Regions from separate parts of the Homo sapiens genome. Here regions 1 and 3 are each linked to region 2. The links are contacts of gene promoters, found by promoter capture Hi-C in blood cells and fetal thymus (Javierre and others, 2016). All regions are on one chromosome and are shown on one strand. Each heading gives the region's core, a stretch centred on a gene start or on the middle of the fragment in contact. The rest is flanking DNA. Distances are from core to core; before and after follow the strand shown. Region 1 overlaps OR6S1 (olfactory receptor family 6 subfamily S member 1). Region 2 holds the start of RNASE4 (ribonuclease A family member 4). Region 3 holds the start of TRL-TAG2-1 (tRNA-Leu (anticodon TAG) 2-1).

Region 1 (4,132 bases), core at 285-2,784, 45 kb after region 2:
GTGGCCTTGCTTCCTTTCTGTAAGCAGGGTGCTGTGGTACAGCACTTCTTCTGCGACAGTGGCCCACTGCTCCGCCTGGCTTGCACCAACACCAAGAAGCTGGAGGAGACTGACTTTGTCCTGGCCTCCCTCGTCATTGTATCTTCCTTGCTGATCACTGCTGTGTCCTACGGCCTCATTGTGCTGGCAGTCCTGAGCATCCCCTCTGCTTCAGGCCGTCAGAAGGCCTTCTCTACCTGTACCTCCCACTTGATAGTGGTGACCCTCTTCTATGGAAGTGCCATTTTTCTCTATGTGCGGCCATCGCAGAGTGGTTCTGTGGACACTAACTGGGCAGTGACAGTAATAACGACATTTGTGACACCACTGTTGAATCCATTCATCTATGCCTTACGTAATGAGCAAGTCAAGGAAGCTTTGAAGGACATGTTTAGGAAGGTAGTGGCAGGCGTTTTAGGGAATCTTTTACTTGATAAATGTCTCAGTGAGAAAGCAGTAAAGTAAAAGTGAAGAGTCTAGTAACTAGTCTTTTTTTTTTTTTTTTTTTTTTTTTTTTGAGAGAGAGAGAGAGAAAGTCTCACTCTGTCGCCCAGGCTGGAGTGCAGTGGCGCGATCTCAGCTCACTGCAACCTCCACCTCCTGGGTTTAAGCAATTCTCCTGCCTCAGCCTCCTGAGTAGCTGGGATTACATGTGCCCACCACCACACCTGGCTAATTTTTGTATTTTTAGTAGAGATGGGGTTTCACTCGATGACCAGGCTAGTCTCAAACTCCTGGCATCAAGTGATCCACCCACCTCAGCCTCCCGAAGTGCTGGGATTACAGGTGTGAGCCACCACACCTGGTCTTGTTGTCATTTTTAAAAATCATATTTTAAAATCCAAATATTCTCATTATCATGCTCCTTTCCGTCTTCATTATGGATATCACCAAAAGACTGAATTCTGGAACTACTAATGAATTCTCAGGTCATCAATCCACCTTCTTCTCTTTCAGGCAAAATTTCTTGATCCTAGATCATACCTAATAATAATAATACTTATTATTATTATTGATATATCGTGATCAATATCATCGCCACTTCCTAAGACCTTCCAACCTGTGAGTCTTAACCTATGGGTCCATGGTCATGTAGGGAATCTAAGGATGGGTTTCAGAAAATTTATATGCCCAATAGGTATCTAAATTTTATGTGCTTGAATATATATGCATTTGTCTGAGAAGAGGGACTGTAGCTTTAATTCAACATTTGAATCCATTCGTGCACTCTCCTCAAAAGCTAAAAACTGATTGCAAGTCTAAGTAGAGCCTTCCAACTGTTTATGCAAGTCAAGAATTTTAAGAAAAAATTCCTTATAGATATAAAATGAAATAAAAATAGATTATCTGTATATTTTTGTACATGCTTGTTAGAAAAATTTACATTTAATGCTAGAGGAAAAAGAGGTGAAGCAAATTTAATAAAGGGACTTAATTACTTCTCTGTGGTAATTCCAGGTGCTGTTGGGAAAGCAGATCAGTGAGGGATTTCATGAGTAATAGCATTTACTGTATTCTTCTAGTGTGCACTTTAGTACATTGATAAAGACATCTCCACTCGTTTTGTCATTGGATTATGTTTCATTCATTTGTTCATCTTTTTACATTCTTGTATCTGTTGTGTGAAATCTTCTTTTGTTTTTAGTAAAATAAGGAGCTTTAATATTAAAGAGTTAAGAATGCCACATAGGCTGGACACGGTGGCTCACGCCTGTAATCCTAGCCCTTTGGAAGGCCGAGACAGGCTGATCACCTGAGGTCAGGAGTTCCTAGACCAGTCTGGCCAACATGGCGAAACCCCGCCTCTACAAAAACACAAAAATTAGCCGGGCGTGGTGGCGGGCGCCTTTAATCCCAGCTACCAAAAAGGGTAATTTCATATAATTTCATTATATAAGGAGGCATTATATAAGGAGGCAGGAGAATCACTGAACCCAGGGGGCGGAGGTTTGCAGCGAGCCAAGATCGTGCCACTTCACTCCAGCCTGGGCGAAAGAGCAAAACTCCATCTAAAAAAAAAAAAAAAAAGAATGCCAAATGCCAAATATTGTTGTATCTACCAAGAACCAAACTTTGTAGTAAATTTTGTCTAGTTTATTGGACATTTGAAAAGGGATTCCTATTCATGGAAATCCCTTTGGAAATCTTGGAAACAAATATTTATTTATTTATTTATTTATTTATTTATTTATTTATTCATTCATTCATTCAGCAAAGGTCTGTGAAGAATCTTTGTTGAACACTGTGATATATGAATATATACAAAGATGAACAAGAATAAATTGTTTCTAACCTCAAGCAGCTTGAACTTTAGAGTTTAGAACTAAGGGACGGATAATAATTTAAGGAAATGTGGATGAGAAGGAGATTTACAAAAGGACATTGGAGATCTTATAAAAATTGGTTTACTCTTCCCAGTGCATTTTCTTGTTAGAGAAATTTTCACAGAGGTCATCATTCATTAAACAGGATTTGTCACGTTAGAGTGTGTGTACATAGGAACGATGTACAAAACATGTAAATATCAAGGTATCGACAGCATACTAAACTCAAAATAGTGCTGCAAAACTGGCAAAGTGCGTATTAGCGTCAAAAGAGTTAGCCATAAGCTTCAGTGGGCATGGAAAATAGAAATGTTTTTATCTAGTTCTATTCATAATGCATGCAAACACACTAGATAATTTTATTCCAAAATATTTCTGAGTACTAAAGGAATGGAAAGAATGATTCGAAGGTAAAAATAACTCTTCTGGAGTGATCTAGAAGTGTTGCCCAGAGAGGAGATGAAATATCGCCTTAAAAATTACCTAGTTTCATGAAACATAAAAATCTGAAGTCTATTCCAGCCACTGGCCAAGGAAAGGAATTCATGCAACAATTTACAGCATTTCTTGAAGTAATTGCCACATATTATGGCAATAAAGCATGTTAAACCATCCATTTTCAACATGTGTTTCATTGTGAAAAATAACTTTGGGCTCAATTTAATTCAATAAAATTTGTTGAATACTGTGTTCTAGGAAGTAAGTTGGTATGTTAGAGGTACAAATATTGGCCCCTGCCATCAAGGAATTCATAGACTTTTGGGGTAGACATAATACATATGAATATATAAATATATAATTTTTTTTCTGTTTTTGAGATGGAGTCTTACTCTGTTGTCCGGGCTGGAAACCAATGGCGTGATCTCAGCTCACTGCAACCTCTGCCTCCCGGGTTCAAGCGATTCTCCTGCCTCAGCCTCCCGAGTAGCTGGGATTATAGGCACGTGCCACCACACCCAGCTAATTTTGTATTTTTAGCAGAGACGGGGTTTATCCTTGTTGGTCAGGCTGGTCTGGAACTCCCGACCTCAGGTGATCTGCTAGCCTCACCCTCCCCAAAGTGCTGGGATTACAAGCGTGAGCCACCGCGCCTGGCTTCGAATTTCTATAAAGGTACCATGACAAGCGTCTTTATTCATACTATTATATGAAATAAATTTGCCTGAAATTTTGGTATGATGGTATGTGTAGATTGAGTGCGCATGTGAATGTGTGCATGCATATAACAGTGATACAAACTTGTGTGTCCATGAAAGTTTGTGATTAAATAAAAGAATAAATAAAAATCTGTTTATTGATATTTATTTCTAAGCTTTCCTTTCAAAGATCTTACCTTCATTGACATGAAATTTGTATTTTGTTTTTAAACATACAGTTAAGACAGAATATACTTAATTTAGAAGAAGTAGAAAATGCTTCTGTTTGCATCATTTTACATATAAAACTCTGAATAAGGCCAGGTGCAGTGGCTCACGCCTACAATCCCAGCATGCTGGGAAGCCAACAAGGGGGATTGTTTGAGCCTGGGATTTCGAGGCTACAGTCAGCCAAGATCGCATCACTGCACTCCAGCCTGGGCCAAAGGGTGAGACCTGGTCTCAAAAATTAAATAAATAAATGAAGCTCTTAATGACATCATTGATAATGACAATGATGCTAAACTCAGCAAGCATATGTTACTCTTTATACTTACCTCAGCAGAGTTTGGCACAACTGATCTTGTCCTCTTATTTGAAATAGTCAATGTGTTCTTTGTTATTTATTTATTT
Region 2 (3,976 bases), core at 427-2,926:
GTTACTAACATCGTACCACTCCATGGAGTCATAGAACAAGAGTGGGAGGGGCCTCTGAGACTCTGTCCACCCCTCATATTAAAGAAGAGCCAACTGAGGAACAGAGAAAGAGACATGTATTGCCCAAGGAACTCATTGCATTCGCCGGCCTGGAAGCTTTCCAATGCACCACACAATTTTTTTTTTTTTTTTTTTTAAGACGGAGTCTTGCTCTGTCACCCAGGCTAGAGTGCAGTGACGCAATCTCTGTTCACTGTAACCTCCGCCTCCCAGGTTCAAGAGAGTCTCCTGTCTCAGCCTCCCGAGTAGCTGGGGTTACAGGTGCTCACCACCGTGCCCGGCTAATTTTTGTATTTTTAGTAGAGACGAGGTTTCACCATCTTGGCCAGGCTGGTCTCGAACTCCTGATCTTGTGATGCACCCACCTCGGCCTCCCAAAGTGCTGGGATTACAGGCATGAGCCACCGTGCCGGGCCCACACAACTTTTATATTCCATACTAGTACTTTCTAGACAATCAGAGCTAACTTTAAAGGGGCCACTGAAAGTTGCTGTTCGAAGGAAACCTACATTGACTATTACCATAAATTCAAAAATTATTTTACTCTGCTTGTCATCAGTAAAAGAATTGCTTGAATTGAAGCGTATGTAATAAACCTATCCTCTTGCAAAACTTGTTAGTGGCTCTGTGGTTAAGTAAGTCTTGAATACCTGAGGCTGCTTCTGGGAAGGTGGTCCTGTGCCACAGATAATGATGTCCCTTGGGTTTCTACTGATTACATTATGACTTGATTATAAGATTTTTACTGTCACGAGGGAGGGTCTTGGCTCATCTGAGATTTCCCTAGCCCCCTGAGTGGTGCTGAAATTGTTTTAATAAAGATGTTGCGCTTTACTCATGTGCTGCTATTAGCATTTGACGTGCTGTCTCAGAGCGAGAAAACGGAGGATCCCAACCTTCCAGTAGGAAGGCTTAGAGAAGAGGCTGTTGGCAAGTGTCTCTAAGAATTGCACAACACTGGCTGAGGGTGGGTTAAGGGTGAGGAGGCAGAGGAGAGTAAACAGAAAACACCGATCCCCAAATGTTAGTTACGCTTGCAAAAAACTAAGGCCTGCTTCAAAAAGCTGGTGATTAGCCTGAATAACTAGCAAAGCTTTCTTAGTTGTGGGCAAGTGCAGGCCTCCTAGGGCTTCCCTTAGGTTCGGCGATTCTGTGGTCCCCCTCCAAGCCTACTAATCAATAGAAGCTGGCATCTGTGCCCAGCTGCGCAAAGTAAACCTGAGTGGGAATGTAAAGTCGTTAACTCATACAAATACGGGACTTTCACGTCCCTCCCCATTCCTCCCTCTCCAGCCCCGTCCCGCAAACTCCTCCCCAAGGAGTCCCAAGCTGCCTCTACTAGGAAAGGACTCCCCGGCCTAAACGCCCCTTATGAAGCTACCAGAGAGGAGGAGGAGGAGCAGGAGTGTGAACCTACCTCGGCCTCAGAACAAGTCCGCAGAAACGGGCAGGACAATGGAAAGAAGTTTTGTTTCTCACCCGCTTCTTCCTCCCTAGTACGATGATGGGGAGCCGGTAGAAAACGCAAAGATGTTCTTTTGAATCCTGCTTTGCATCTAGGTGGGGTTGGCGTCCTTGTGTGAGTGTGTGTACACGGACGGAGATGGGGGCGTGGTGAGGTGTGGAGGGTCGGCGTGCCAGCCTCTGCGTAGTTGGGACCGCGCCCCGCTTCTCCGAGGAGGCCCCTCCCGCCTGGATCCGCCCTTGGAGCTGGCGCCGCAGCAGCACCCGCCCCAGGGGCCGCAGGGGCAGCCCAGGCAAAGAACGAGCCTGGGATCCGCGCTCCTTCCTCAGCTGGACCCCAACGGGCAGCAGCCGCGAGAGCACTGCCTCCACGGAGAGCAGATGGCGGGAAACTGGCTTCTGCTCCCAATTGCCAGGCGGCCCTTCAGAGACTACCCCTGGCTGAGCGTCCAGGAACCCATGAAACTTGGTCTTGACACTGGTCGACAGCACCATCTGCCACGTACTTATTCGCTGCTGCTTTCTTTGGCAGGACAGCCCATCGCGAGACAGTTTGTGTTTCAAATTTAACGGAGACTTTTTTTCAGTAGTTGACAAAAGGGGGTGGAAAAACAGTAGCCACGAGGGCTCGTCCGGGATTTGAACCCGGGACCTCTCGCACCCAAAGCGAGAATCATACCCCTAGACCAACGAGCCACTGTAGCTGAGTGGTGCTTCCTATCACTCTGAATTTCTCTTTTCCGCCTGCTGTTCTGAAGGTTTTTTGTTTTGTTTCTTTTCCTCTGTTGTGACATTTCCCTTAGGCCTTATTTAGTTATTCCTTCCATCTTCACCAAGTTTCAAGTGTGGCTTATTCTCTGGCTTATTCTCCTCGATCCAGATGCAGGATGGGGTGAAGGAAGGCAGCTTTTTAGACTTTAGGTCACATGCTTGTGTCTCACTGAGCCCGGGGAGCGATTTAAGCCCGCTAGGGCCTGGAGGGAACCTGGAGGGGGCTGAAATAGAGATCGAGGGCCAGAGCTGAGCTCGGTTGCAAGGCTGTAGGGTACTGAGCCCCAGGACAGACGCGCGATACGTATATATCTGCCGGCCTTTGGACTTAACGTAGAAGCCAAAATATAACACACTTCGGTAAGACAACAGTGCCTTCCCCCAACGGTGGGACGATTCGGGTCTACTATCTTTCAGAAAGGTAACCAACTTTTCAAGACGCGATTAACGCAGCCCACCTCGCGGCTAAGCTGTTTCCTTCGGACAAGGGTGAGAGACAGAAACAGATTTGATCACGTCAAGATACAGAGATTTTTTGCACAAACGAAGAGCAACCGTAAACCCCAAAACAGCAGCGTCTCCTTCGAGCCGGAATCGAACCAGCGACCTAAGGATGACCACACATTAAGTACTACAGTCCTCCGCTCTACCAGCTGAGCTATCGAAGGAAGCACGGAAACAACTCTCCTAAAAATCCCTACTCGAGACATCCTTAACCAGAGACGGGAAAGAAAGAAATCTCTTTATACCCGGAAAGTAATTACTGCAGAGTCACAAAGCCAGCTTGTAAGACAGTCCTGCGTCCGAGGTTCTGAGGACAACCTTTCTAAATCTGGATTCCCCTGCCTCACTGAGGGGCTCCCAAGCAGAGCAGGCGCCCCTGAAACTCGGGCATACCGAGGCTGCTCATCCTCTGGGCGCCCGAGGGCTGTTGGCCTCACTGGGCGCGGACCCAGGGGCCTCGCGAGCGTGGATGCGTGTGTTTGTGTGTAGGGTGGGGACCGGCACCTGGGCGTCGGAGAACTGGGGGCTGAGGCGGTGGGACGCACACAATTCTGACTGCGCAACTGTGAACGCCGGAGAGGGCGGGCCTCCAGGCTTAGGCCCGGGCTCCCTGATGTCCTCACTTCCTGCGCTTCCCTCCCAATCTCGGCTCTTCCGCTTACACGTCCACAGACACGGGAGGGAGAGGGTGTGGAATGGAGCAGTGGTCCCCAACATTTTTGGCACTAGGGACCGGTTTCGTGGAAGACAGTTTTTCCACGGACCGCGGGGGCGGGGGGAAGAGTTGGGGGATGGTTTCGGGATGAAACTGTTCCACCTCAGATCATCAGGCATCACTTAGATTCTCATAAGGAGTGCAGTTTAGATCCCTGGCATGCGCAGTTCCCAATAGGGTTCGCGCTCCTGTGAGATTCTAATGCCACCACTGATCTCACAGGAGGCGGAGCTCAGGCGGTACTGGTAGCTAGCCCGGAGTTCACCTCCTGCTGTACAGCCGGGTCCCTAACAGGCCATGGACAGGTGCGCGGCCCAAGGGTTGGGAACCCCTGAAATAGAGGACATCTGGGCAAACCCAATGTTTCTGTGTGAATTCGCTTTTGGAGATAATATTTGCAGCTCATTCAAAAGGAAGGCCACATTTCTCTGCGTTAAAATCAAATTTAGTGACCCAAGTCTC
Region 3 (4,058 bases), core at 1,034-3,533, 61 kb after region 2:
ATGCCAATTGGAAATCAGGATTTTAATTACGAATGCAGAATTCAGAGGAACTGATGCTGTGTAATCCGGGAGAATCCTGGGAAAGGAAGATTTAATTATTTTACTAGTTAGAAAGTGTTAGTACTTCAGGATCCTTGTTGTGCTAAAACGTACCACTGGCAGTGGTGGGATTCGAACCCACGCCCCCGAAGAGACTGGAGCCTAAATCCAGCGCCTTAGACCGCTCGGCCACACTACCACACACGTTATAGGAGTTTGCAATTACCTTCTTCATTCTGTCAGCATTTTGCCCCAGCGTACAAGTGCAAAATTCTGAATTTTCTTCGCGGAAGCAGGGTTCCGGATAGCATTTTCATTCATCCTTAGGGATCTAAGCAAACTCAAGGAGAGGAGGAATTACTGAATTCTCACTCGCCCTGGGAAGTGGGCTAGCAGGTAATGGAAGATTATTAGCGTCAATGTCTTTGGAAGACCTTTATCTTTTCTTTAACCTAGGCAATAAAACACGGAGACTTTAAAAATCCTACTGGTGATTTGAAAGTTATTCGAGAAGACTGAAGAATAAGAACTCCTTGCTGTTGGATCGTGGTTCTGTGGGTACAAATATTGCTTAGAGTGCCATGGGGTCGAAGTTCACGTCACTTATTAGGCGCCCTTTCGTTCACAGACCTGTAAGCCTGTCACCGCGTTCAAAGGAAACTCGATGGCCGCTCCCTCCTGCAGTTTGAGCAAGGAGAGGTTGGGTTGGGCAATTGCCGGGTTTCTTGTTGAGGAAGAAGGCCGCTCTGCACGCTCGGGTAGACCGACGCCTACGCCCATGGCAGTAGCACGGCTCCCCAGAGGGAGGTCACATTCCAAGGGCATCCCCAGCGCAGAAAGGGTGGTCCCGGGCTTCCCTGGAGCCCTGGTGCTGCTCATTCTTTTTCTTTTCTTTTCTTTTTTTCTTTTCTTTTCTTTTCTTTCTTTCCTTTCTCTCTCTCTCTCTTTTCTTTCTTTCTCTCCTTCCTTCCCTCTTTCCTCTCTCTCTCTCTCTGTCTCTCTCCCTCCCTTTCGGCAGTATGGCTATTTTCATGATGTTGATTCTTCCTATCCATGAACATGGACTGTTTTCCGTTTGTTTGTGTCCTTTCTGATTTCCTTGAACAGTGGTTTGTAGTTCTCTTTGAAGTGGTCCTTCACTTCCCTTGTTAGCTGTATTGCTAGGTATTTTATTCCCTTTGAAGCAATTGTGAATGGGAGTTCATTCCTAATTTGGCTCTCTACTTGCCTGCTGTTTTTTGTTTGTTTGTTTGTTTTGTTTTGTTTTTTGACGGCGTCTCTGTCGCCCAGGCTGGATAGGCAACACCCATGGCAGTGGTGCCATCTCGACTCACTGCAACCTCCGCCTCCAGGGTTCAAGCGATTCTCCTGCCTCAGCCTCCTGAATAGCTGGGAATACAGGCGTCCACCACCACGCCCGCCCGGCTAATTTTTTGTATTTTTAATAGATATGGGTTTTCACCATGTTGGCCAGGCTGGTCTCGAACTGCTGATCTCAGGTGATCCACCCGCCTCAGCCCCACAAAGTGCTGGGATTACAGGCGTGAGCCGCCCCACCCGGCAGCTTGTCAGCTTTCTTAAGCTTTTGGGCTGAGATGAGGCGGTTTTCTCGATACAGGATCATGTCATCTGCAAACAGGAAGAGTTTGACTTCCTCTCTTCCTATTTGAATGCCCTGTATTTCTTTCTCTTGCTTTATTGCCCTGGTCAGAACTTCCAATACTATGTTAATACGTGTGGTGAGAGAGGGCATCCGTGTTTCGTGCCGGTTTTCAAGGGGAATGCTTCCAGCTTTTGCCCATTCAGTATGATGTTGGTTGTGGGTTTGTCACACATGGCTTTTATTATTTTGAGGTATGTTCCTTTAAAACTTAGATTATTGAGGGTTTTTAACATGAAGGGATGTTGAATTTTACAGAAAGCCTTTTCTGCATCTATTTCATGTGTTGTAACATTTCTTTCTAAAGGAGCAGAGGGAAAGCTAGAAAACGGTTTCAGAGGTGATACTTGGGGTCTCCCGCACCCAAAGTGGGAATCACTGACCTGCGAACAACCCCACTCGGCGCAAAGCCCTGGATTATGTATTATTTATATTCTTTGCTGCTGTTCCCACTTGGCTGTTTTCTTGGTCTGTGGATCCAGAAATTCTCCTGGGAGCCTAATTAAAGTTGCCTAATTTTAAGTGCTCTCTCTGTCCCCCATCTCAATCACTCAAAAAAACCACAACCCTTTCTCGCCTCTCCTGGCTCTAGGCCTCTGAGGTCTCTCCCCAAGCCCTGGTGGCCCAGCGGGTCAGGTTGAGGGCGAATAGAGAGGAAAAAAGCGTTCTTCCCTGGGTCTCCGCGGGGGCGAAGGTCCTGCGAGTTCACGGTCACCGCTGCCAGGAGTTGGGGGAGGCGAGCAGAAAGGAAGTTCTTAAAAAGCAGCTTTAAAATAGGGCTCAGGGAGCACCGCATAAACGTAGAACCCAGGCAGGGAAGCGGGGGCGGCATAGGAAAGGGCAGGGACGTTCGGAGGTCGGAGGCAGGCTCTCCTCCCGCGCCCCCCCGCAACTCTAGTCCGGGCTCCCCGCGGTGCCTCCCAAACTCACCCCGTGTTACATCCCCCTCTTCACGCCTCGTCACCCTCTGGCGCCAGCACCCTCCTCACCAACCTCCAGCTCACCGGCAATCTAAGCTCACTGGGTACCCACCGTTGGCCCTGACCAGGTCTCTTTCTCCCTAGAAGGAGGAAGTCAGCACCCAAGGCCAGCAGGCAGCATCTCGTAGGTTTTGAATCCAGCAGGATGGTCAAAGATATGGCCTCCTACGCATCACTTAAGACGGAGAGATTAAAATACCCGTCGCCAGCCCCTTTGGCTGAATGTATGACTACTAAGAAATTTCACGTTGTGTTTTCAAGCTTTGGAGGAAGCCTTAGGGGAAAAGGAGTGTGAGCTTACTGCCTCCATCAGTACACGCAAGTCTTTGCCAGGGTCAGAAGTGGAAAGACTAATGTTCTTCTTAAGCTGGAGAGAATCCTAGGAATCCTGTGCCACCATCTCAGTGTGCAGGCCGGGGAAGCATCAGCTTGAAAGAAAAAAAGAAAGATCCTGGGGCTCTTTACGACTTGAAAGAGCTGTGCAGGGTGAATGGGAGGGGAGATAACAAATATTTAAAATATCTGTTGAGCTATTATACCTAGAATTGAGCCAATAAGAGACTTAGGGCACATGAATGGGTCTCATATTGAAACTTTTGATGAGCTCTCCAGATGAGATTTTACAGTCACATTTATGTCTCTGTGTTTCAGTGCTAGTCTGATAAACATACCTGCTATGGTTTGAATATGGTTAATTTGTCCCCACTAGAACTCATGTCGAAATTTGATTTCCAATGTGTCAGTGTTGGGAGATGGGGCCTAGTGGGAGGTGTTTGGATCACAGTAGTAAATTCCTTATGAATGTCTTGGTGCCCTTCTCTCTGTAGTGTGTGAGTTCTGGCTCTGGTGAGATTGGATTACTTCCTTTGGGAATGGATTAGTTCCCTGGGAGAGTGGGTTGTTATACAGCCAAGAGGCCCTCACTTTTTTTTTTCTTTTTTTCTCTTTGTATGTGTCTGCTTCCCCTTTGACCTTCTCTGCCTTGTTTTGACCTAGTGTAGTGGCCCTCCCCAGAAGCCTGGCTGATGCTGGTAACATGCTTCTCCTACTTCCCAGGCTGCAGAACTGTGAGCTAAATAAACCTCTTTCTTTCTAAATTACTCAGCCTCATGTATTCTATTACAGCAACACAAAACGAACGAAGACAATACTCATTTGGCCAGGTGTGGTGGCTCACGCCTGTAATCTCGGCATTTTGGGAGACTGAAGCAGGCACATTGCTTGAGGTCAGGAATTCGAGACCAGCCTGGACAACATGTCAAAACCCCGTCTCTACTAAAAATACAAAAATTAGCCGGGCATGGTGGCATGTGCCTGTAATCCCAGCTACTCAGGAGGCTGAGGCAGGAGAATCGCTTGAACCCAGGAGATGGAGGTTG

Evidence for each region. The method cuts DNA at HindIII sites, captures the fragments that hold promoters and counts their contacts. A CHiCAGO score of 5 or more calls a contact.
Region 1: a fragment that was not itself captured here is called in contact with the fragment with the promoter of RNASE4 in region 2 in 3 of 17 cell types (naive B cells, total CD8 T cells and activated CD4 T cells); the score reaches 5.8 in naive B cells.
Region 3: a fragment that was not itself captured here is called in contact with the fragment with the promoter of RNASE4 in region 2 in 15 of 17 cell types (M0 macrophages, total B cells, megakaryocytes and 12 more); the score reaches 12.4 in M0 macrophages.

The regions. Positions count from the first base shown.
Region 1 is chr14:20,637,068-20,641,199 of GRCh38, reverse strand. OR6S1 (olfactory receptor family 6 subfamily S member 1) reads left to right here. Exons shown (of 1, transcript NM_001001968.1): 1 at 1-504. The coding sequence ends at 504. Among named protein-coding and RNA genes, the nearest start is that of OR6S1, 2.6 kb to the left of the region's middle. The HindIII fragment of the contact is 2,233 bases long and covers 418-2,650 here.
Region 2 is chr14:20,682,260-20,686,235 of GRCh38, reverse strand. RNASE4 (ribonuclease A family member 4) reads right to left here and starts at 1,676. Exons shown (of 2, transcript NM_002937.5): 1 at 1,478-1,676. It overlaps TRY-GTA5-5 (tRNA-Tyr (anticodon GTA) 5-5), which reads right to left and starts at 2,963; the gene lies at 2,875-2,963. It overlaps TRP-TGG3-2 (tRNA-Pro (anticodon TGG) 3-2), which reads right to left and starts at 2,220; the gene lies at 2,149-2,220. It also overlaps a transcript of ANG not described here. RefSeq lists enhancers at 1,385-1,524, 2,325-2,454, 2,595-2,784, 2,985-3,294 and silencers at 1,755-1,874, 2,145-2,194. The HindIII fragment of the contact is 4,966 bases long and covers 1,156-3,976 here.
Region 3 is chr14:20,621,550-20,625,607 of GRCh38, reverse strand. TRL-TAG2-1 (tRNA-Leu (anticodon TAG) 2-1) reads right to left here and starts at 238; the gene lies at 157-238. RefSeq lists a silencer at 139-208 and enhancers at 1-441, 2,191-2,330. The HindIII fragment of the contact is 1,319 bases long and covers 1,624-2,942 here.